Linked DNA regions of Homo sapiens: region 2 is linked to region 1. Evidence: promoter capture Hi-C in 16 types of primary human blood cells and fetal thymus (Javierre and others, 2016). All regions are on one chromosome and are shown on one strand. The core of a region is centred on a gene start or on the middle of the fragment in contact, and the rest is flanking DNA. Distances in the headings are between cores, read along the strand shown.

The links. Contacts are between HindIII fragments. The CHiCAGO score rates a contact against its expected background, and 5 or more counts as called.
Region 2: a contact is called between a fragment that was not itself captured here and the fragment with the promoter of CD48 in region 1, in 1 of 17 cell types (fetal thymus). The highest score is 5.8, in fetal thymus.

The regions. Positions count from the first base shown.
Region 1 is chr1:160,710,106-160,713,419 of GRCh38, reverse strand. It overlaps CD48 (CD48 molecule), which reads left to right and starts at 1,598. Exons shown (of 4, transcript NM_001778.4): 1 at 1,598-1,738. The coding sequence starts at 1,657. RefSeq lists enhancers at 570-629, 1,170-1,349. The HindIII fragment of the contact is 2,140 bases long and covers 84-2,223 here.
Region 2 is chr1:160,844,032-160,847,552 of GRCh38, reverse strand. The region is part of intron 1 of CD244 (CD244 molecule); the gene reads left to right. Among named protein-coding and RNA genes, the nearest start is that of CD244, 17 kb to the left of the region's middle. The HindIII fragment of the contact is 5,513 bases long and covers 1-3,521 here.

The DNA.
Region 1 (3,314 bases), core at 349-2,848:
CCATCCTCCACTTCCCTCTACCCTTCCCAGCCTCTGATAACCACAATTTTACTCTCTACTTCTATGAGCTCATTTTTTAAGCTTCCATATATGATTGGGAACGTGGTTTTTTATCTTTCTGTGCATGACTTATTTCACTTAACATAATGTCCTTCAGGTTTGAGGACTGAGAAGAGCAGACATTTTATTGTTCATCTCCATGTTGAGAATCAGAAATGTCCCCAATTAAAAAGTGATTACAAATATGTTATATCAGGAACTGTGGCTTGCCTGTGGGTCCTGGGTGGGCAAATAACTAATTTACATTCAATAGGAATGAGCTTGAAATTTCCTAGACATGATATGATTTGGCTGTGTTCCCTTCCAAATCTCATCTTGAATTGTAGTTCCCATAATCCCCACATATCATGGGAGCAACCCAGTAGGAAGTAAGTTAATCATACGAGCAGTTACCATCATGCTGTTCTCGTGATAGTGAGTTCTCACTAGATCTGATGGTTTCATAAGGAAGGGGCTTTCCCCATTGCTGCTCAGTGCTTCTCTTTCCTGCCACCGTGTGAAGAAGGACGTATTGGCTTCCCCTTGCACCATGATTGTAGGTTTCCTGAGGCTTCCCAAGCCATGCTGAACTAGAAGTCAATTTAACCACTTTCCTGGCCAGGCACAGGCCCATGCCTATAATCCCAGCACTTTGGGAGGCTGAGGCAGGTGGATCACTTGAGGTCAGGAGTTCAAGACCAGCCGGGCCAACATGGTGAAACCCTACTAAAAATACAAAAATTAGCTGGGCATGGTGGTGCTTGCCTGTAATCCCAGCTATGTAGGAGGCTGAGGCAGGAGAGTTGCTTGAACCTGTCAGGTGGAGGTTGCAGTGAGCTGAGATTGCACTGCTGCACTCCAGTCTGGGCTACAGAGTGAGACTGCATCTCAAAAAAAAAAAAAACCAAAACAAACAAAACAAAACAAAACCCCTCTCTTTCCTTTATAAATTACCCAGTCTGGGGTATGTCTTTATTAGCAGTGTGAGAACAGACTAATACAGACTACAAGGGTGGGAAATCCATTCTTTTGGGCCAAGTAATCTTACTTTTTTTCTGATGTTCAGTGGATAGGCTGATGTCAAACTTCAAATAGTGAATTATCATAAAGGAAGAAGAGCAGAGGGTGGTGCTGGGGGTAAGATATGCAGCACAAAGGCTACGTGGGTCTGATTTCCCAGACTTCAGGCTCTGAATGACACCTACCCAGGCTTGACTGGGAAGCTCCTATGTCTTAGCCCCTGAATTAATCAGAGGGATTCCTGCCTGGGAACGAAAAGCAGACATTCTCTATCAGGGTCCCTTATTCTTTTCTGAGTACTGGCCCCCCTGAGAGTACAGTAGAAGCTATGAATCTTCCCCCTACAAAAAAGCACTCATGTACCTTCAAACAAAATTGTTCTCAGTTTCCGTGATGCTCTTAGATAAAAAAATTTACAAGACCTCCGGTTTCTGGTTTCTGGGGCCCCACACAAGTGTGCTGGGTGGAGAGAAAATCTCAGTGGTTTTTTTTTTTTTCTCTCTAACCCTGTTTGGTAAGTTCCGTTTTTAGCCCCGGCCTTTTTCTAGCCAGGCTCTCAACTGTCTCCTGCGTTGCTGGGAAGTTCTGGAAGGAAGCATGTGCTCCAGAGGTTGGGATTCGTGTCTGGCTCTGGAATTGCTACTGCTGCCTCTGTCACTCCTGGTGACCAGCATTCAAGGTACTTTCCACCAACTGTGTATCTGTGATTGTGCACTGAAGGCATGGTCAGTTGGGAAAGGGGAGACGGGATGTAGTTCAACCCTAGAAGCCAGATCTGGTGTCTGGAAAGCAGGTATTTCCATTCCAATAGCATGGCCATGGCATGGTTGGGGAGCCTTTCTTAGCACTGATGAATGGAGCTTCATCTCCTTTCCCACGGGGATGTGATCAAAACAGGAACCTGGGGAGCAAGAGAAGTAGGCTCCTCATATTTTGTCCCGTGGTTGGTGGTCCATGAAGTTGTGGAAAAGTGTTTGTTTTTTCATTTTGAATAAGAAGAAGCTCTACACTGACAGCTGCTGCATTTTATGCTCAGACACACTGTACTCCCTTAGGCATTCTTTGAGACCTCTGTATATGTGAGGTGTTGCATCCTGAGCCAAGGTAAATGATATTGTCATTGACCCAAAGAAAAGATAGATCAAAATTATAGGAAGAAAAGCTTGGAAAGGATTGCTGTCTGGGGTCTCTGAATGAGGGTCTGAGAAGAGGCTGGAAGTGCTTCAGCATCAAAGGAACCTTAACACATCTGATTGCTAAGAGTTAAGGTCCATTCCTCTGCCACAGCCTGTTCGGTCCCCGGTGTGTGACCAAGGGCTGAGCTAACTTTCCTTCTCCTGTTAGAGCTGCCTCACCCTCTTTCTTCATCCAGTACCTCTCTTCTTATGCCAGCTGAGAAACAGCAGTGAAACCTTTGACTTTCTTGCTATTCCCCCAAGTAAATACTCAAGTCTTTTTAATTTAAAGGGCTTTAATGCTCACCACTCTGAGTAAAACAGTAAAAATCAACAAACATGTGGTAGTCACACTGTGGCATAAAATGATGATAGTTTGTAACTTTTGGGGAGATGAGGTAGAATGTGTGGAGGATCGGTCTCTCACATATTCTACCTCTCAGGTAGAGTCCTTTGGTTCATGACTGTGTGAGTCTACGGCTATATAGGTTCTGTGGGCCTGACTCAATGCATAGGACATTGGTATGACCTTGGGATTGGGGGCTGATGTGAAGTATTCATCTAACTATTGGGAAAAGCAGGGTTGCCAATGAGAATTGGAATATTTTAGGACTTTCTCTAGGCATACTGAAAACATCCTGACAGTTGACCTTTCTCTGACTTCTTTTCTAGGCTTCATCTTGGTCATTTATTCTTCTTTGAAACAATCAGACCACACCTGATTATGTTATCCTTTGAATGGATAATATTGGTTTTGATGAGGTTAGTAAACCTGGGTTATAACACCCGGGCTATAACCTGGGTTAGTAAAATACAAATTAAGCACTTACTGTGTGTCAGACATTGTGCTAGGCCTTTTGCATACTTTTTCATTTAACTTTCATTAGAAAATAGTGAGGTGGCTATTATTATCTACATTTTTCAGATGAGAATACTGTCTTGCAGAGAGATTAAGAAATTCTCCTAAGGGCACACAGGTCTAACTTCCAAACCATTCTATTATGATTATACCTTTCCTAGACTAAGGCGAGGGAATCTTGGTGAAGGTCAATGTGTCTAAATCTCTTAATTTTACTGTTT
Region 2 (3,521 bases), core at 266-2,765, 130 kb before region 1:
GTTATTTTTCTGTTATTGATTTTTTGTTTAATTCTACTGTGCTTAGAGGGCATAATTGGTATGATTTCAATACTTTGAACTTTGTTGACACTTGTTTTAATGCACAGCATATGATAATACTTTGGTAACTATTGCATGTGCACTTGAAAAGAATATGTATTCTGCAATTGTTAGGAGAATTGTTTTATATATAATTTATATATATATTGGTTTAATGATCTTCAAATTCTTATAGCCTTATTGATTTTTTTGTGTGCTTCTTGTAGCAGCTAGAGAGACAGATGTAATAAAACTCTCCAACTATAGTTGTGGATTTACTTCTCCTTTTAGTTCTATCAAATTTTATTTTATATATTTTAAACTTGTTATATGCATAGAAACTGAAGATGATTGTTTATTCCTACTTAATTGGTTCTTTTATAATGATGACATTTCCTTCTATTTCTGTATATTTTTTATACATCTTATGTCTTTTTTTGTTCATTTTCTCCGTTATTGCCTTCTTTTGTATTTAATTGATATTTTTGTGCTGCATCTTTTTGATTCCCTTCTCATTTCTTTTTCTGTACATTTTGTTATTTTCTCAATGGTTACCACAGGTATTACAATGAATACCTCCAACAATATAGTTTGAATTGATGCCAATTCAGCCTCAATACTATAGAAAACTCCTATACAGCTCTATCCCCCCACTTTTATTGTCACAAATTACATCTGTTTCTATTGTTTTTCACTTCTTGTGCCTGAGTTTCCATTTTCTTTATATCTAAAGAACATCCTTTGGTATTTCCTTTACTGCAGGCCTTTTTGTGACAAATTCTTTCCGTTTTTAATTTTTTCTAAAAATGTCTTTATTTCAGCTTCATTTAAAAAATTATTACTATTTTTTGAGACAGTCTCACTTTGTCACCCAGGCAGGAGGGGAGTGGCACCATCTTGGCTCGCTGCAGCCTTGACTTCCTGGGTTCAAGTGATTCTCGTGCCTCAGCCTCCTGAGTAGCCGGGATTATGGGCGCGTGCCACCACGCTCAGCTAACTTTTGTATTTTTAGTCGAGATGGGGTTTGCCATGTTGGCCAGCCTGGTCTCCAACTCCCGACCTCAACTGATTCACCTGCTTCAGCCTCCCAAAGTGCGGGGATTACAGGCATGAGCCACTGCATCTGCTTTCATCTTTGAAGTACCGAAATTCTAGATAGGCAGTTATTTTCTTTCAGCACTTTAAATATATCATTCCTTGGAAAACCAAACAACGTATGTTCTCACTGATACGTGGGAGTTAAGCTACGAGGATGCAAAGGCATAAGAATGATACAGTGGACTTTGGTGACTTGGGAGGAAAAGTGGGAGGGGAGTGAGGGATAAAAGACTATAAATAGAGTGCAGTGTATACTGCTCGGGTGATGGGTGCACCGACTCACAAATCACCTCTAATGAACTTTCTCTTGTAACCAAACACCACCTGTACCCCAATAACCTATGGAAAAATAAAAAAAAAAGATACCATTCCATCATCTGCTTTTTATTATTTTTGCTGAAATGTCAGCTAAGTTGTTTGTTTTGTGAAGGGAATTTAGTTTTCCCCCACTCTGGCTATTTTACGATTTTTCTATTTATCTTTGGTTTCCATAATTTTTTTGATGTATTGAGAGGTTGTCTTTTGTTCATTGGTTTGTTTTTTTTCTTTTTTTTTTTTTGAGACAGAGTTTCACTCTTGTTGCCCAGGTTGGAGTGCAGTGGCGTGATCTCGGCTCACTGCAACCTCCACCTCCTGGATTCAAGTGATTCTCCTGCCTCAGCCTCCCAAGTAGCTGGGATTACAGGTGTGCACCACCATACTTGGCTAATTTTTGCATTTTTAGCAGAGATGGGATTTTGTCATATTGGCCAGGCTGGTCTCAAACTCCTGACGTCAGGTGATCCATCCACCTGGGCCTCCCAAAGTGCTGGGATTACAGGCGTGAGCCACCGTGCCCAGCTTGTCGGTTTGTTTTGATCTTGCTTGGGGTTTGTAACACATTTTACAAATCTATCTTGATGGCTTTTGTCAGTTTTGGGAAATTCTTATCTTTTATCTCTTTTGCTTAGTTCCTCTTTCCTCTCTCGTCTCCTTGCTTTCCAATTACACTTAGTTTAGGGGTTTTGTTTTGTTTTTGCTATATCTCAAATATCTTTTACACTCCTTCTTGTGTATTTTTATCCTTTTGTTTTTCTTTACTTCACTCTGGATATTTTATAACAGTTTTCTAATTCTCTTTTCAATGGCATCTAAATGGCCTTTTTAACCTTTCAATTGAGTTTGTTTTACAGTTATTTTACATTTTATTTCTGTAATTTTCATTGAATTCTTTAAAAAAAATCCAATTTCAGGTAACTATTGCTGCATAATGACCTACTCCAAAATCCAGTAGTTTAAAACAACTACCTATTTAGTTAGTGATTCTGCTAGTTGGCAATTTGGGCTGGGCTCAGCTAGGTGGTTCTTTTGGTTTCCTCTTGCATCAGTCATGCATGTGTGGTCAGCTGCCAGACTGGCCACGGGTGGCTGATTCATTTATTTATTTTTTATTGTTTTTTGAGATTAGGTCTTGCTCTGTCATGCAGGCTAGAGTGCAGTGGCATGATATCTCGGCTCACTGCAAGCTCCATCTCCCGGGTTCAAGCAGTTCTCGTGCCTCAGACTCCCAAGTAGCTGGGGTTACAAGTGTGTGCCACCATGTCTGGCTAATTTTTGTATCGTTAGTAGAGACGAGGTTTTACCATGTTGGCCAGGGTGGTCTCGAACTCCCGACCTTGAGTGATCTGCCGGCCTTGGCCTCCCAAAGTGCTGGAATTACGGGCATGAGCCACCGCACCAGGCCAGGGCTAGCTGATTTAGAATGGCCTTAGCTGTGTTGGCTTATCTCTGTATCATGTGATATCTTATTCTCCAGCAGGCTATTTTAGGCTTGTTCACAGGTCAGCCAGATGAGGTTCCAAGAGAACAAGTAGAAATGTGCAATGCCTTTTCAGATCTAGGCTTAGAACTAGCAGAACATCATTTTTGCTGCGTTTCATCATGAAGACCAGCCCAGTTCCAAGAGACAGGGAAATGAACCCCATTTCTTGATAACAGAAGGAGCTGTAAAGTCACATTGCAAGGACATGGTATTTTTGCATTCTATCACGCTAGTTCTCTGCTGAAATTCTTAAACTTATGTTTTATTTCCTTGAACATATTAGACATGATTACTTTAAAGTTTATGACTGACAACTCTATTATGTAGATGCCCTGTTTGTTGGTTTCTGTTGTCTCTATTCTTCTGTTGGTTTTTGGAGATGTTTCCTTTTCTTATACTTCACTTTGGATATTGTGTATGAAACATTCTAGGAATAATTTAATGCTCTGGTTGATGTTATTTTCCTCTAGTCATAACTTATATTTGCCTCTAGTTGGCAGCCAGGTTAGGGCTACCAGAGATTCCAGATCATTAGTTCAATCCAGGGTTGTGATGATTCAAAATTGAGCTTCAGTTCCTGTGA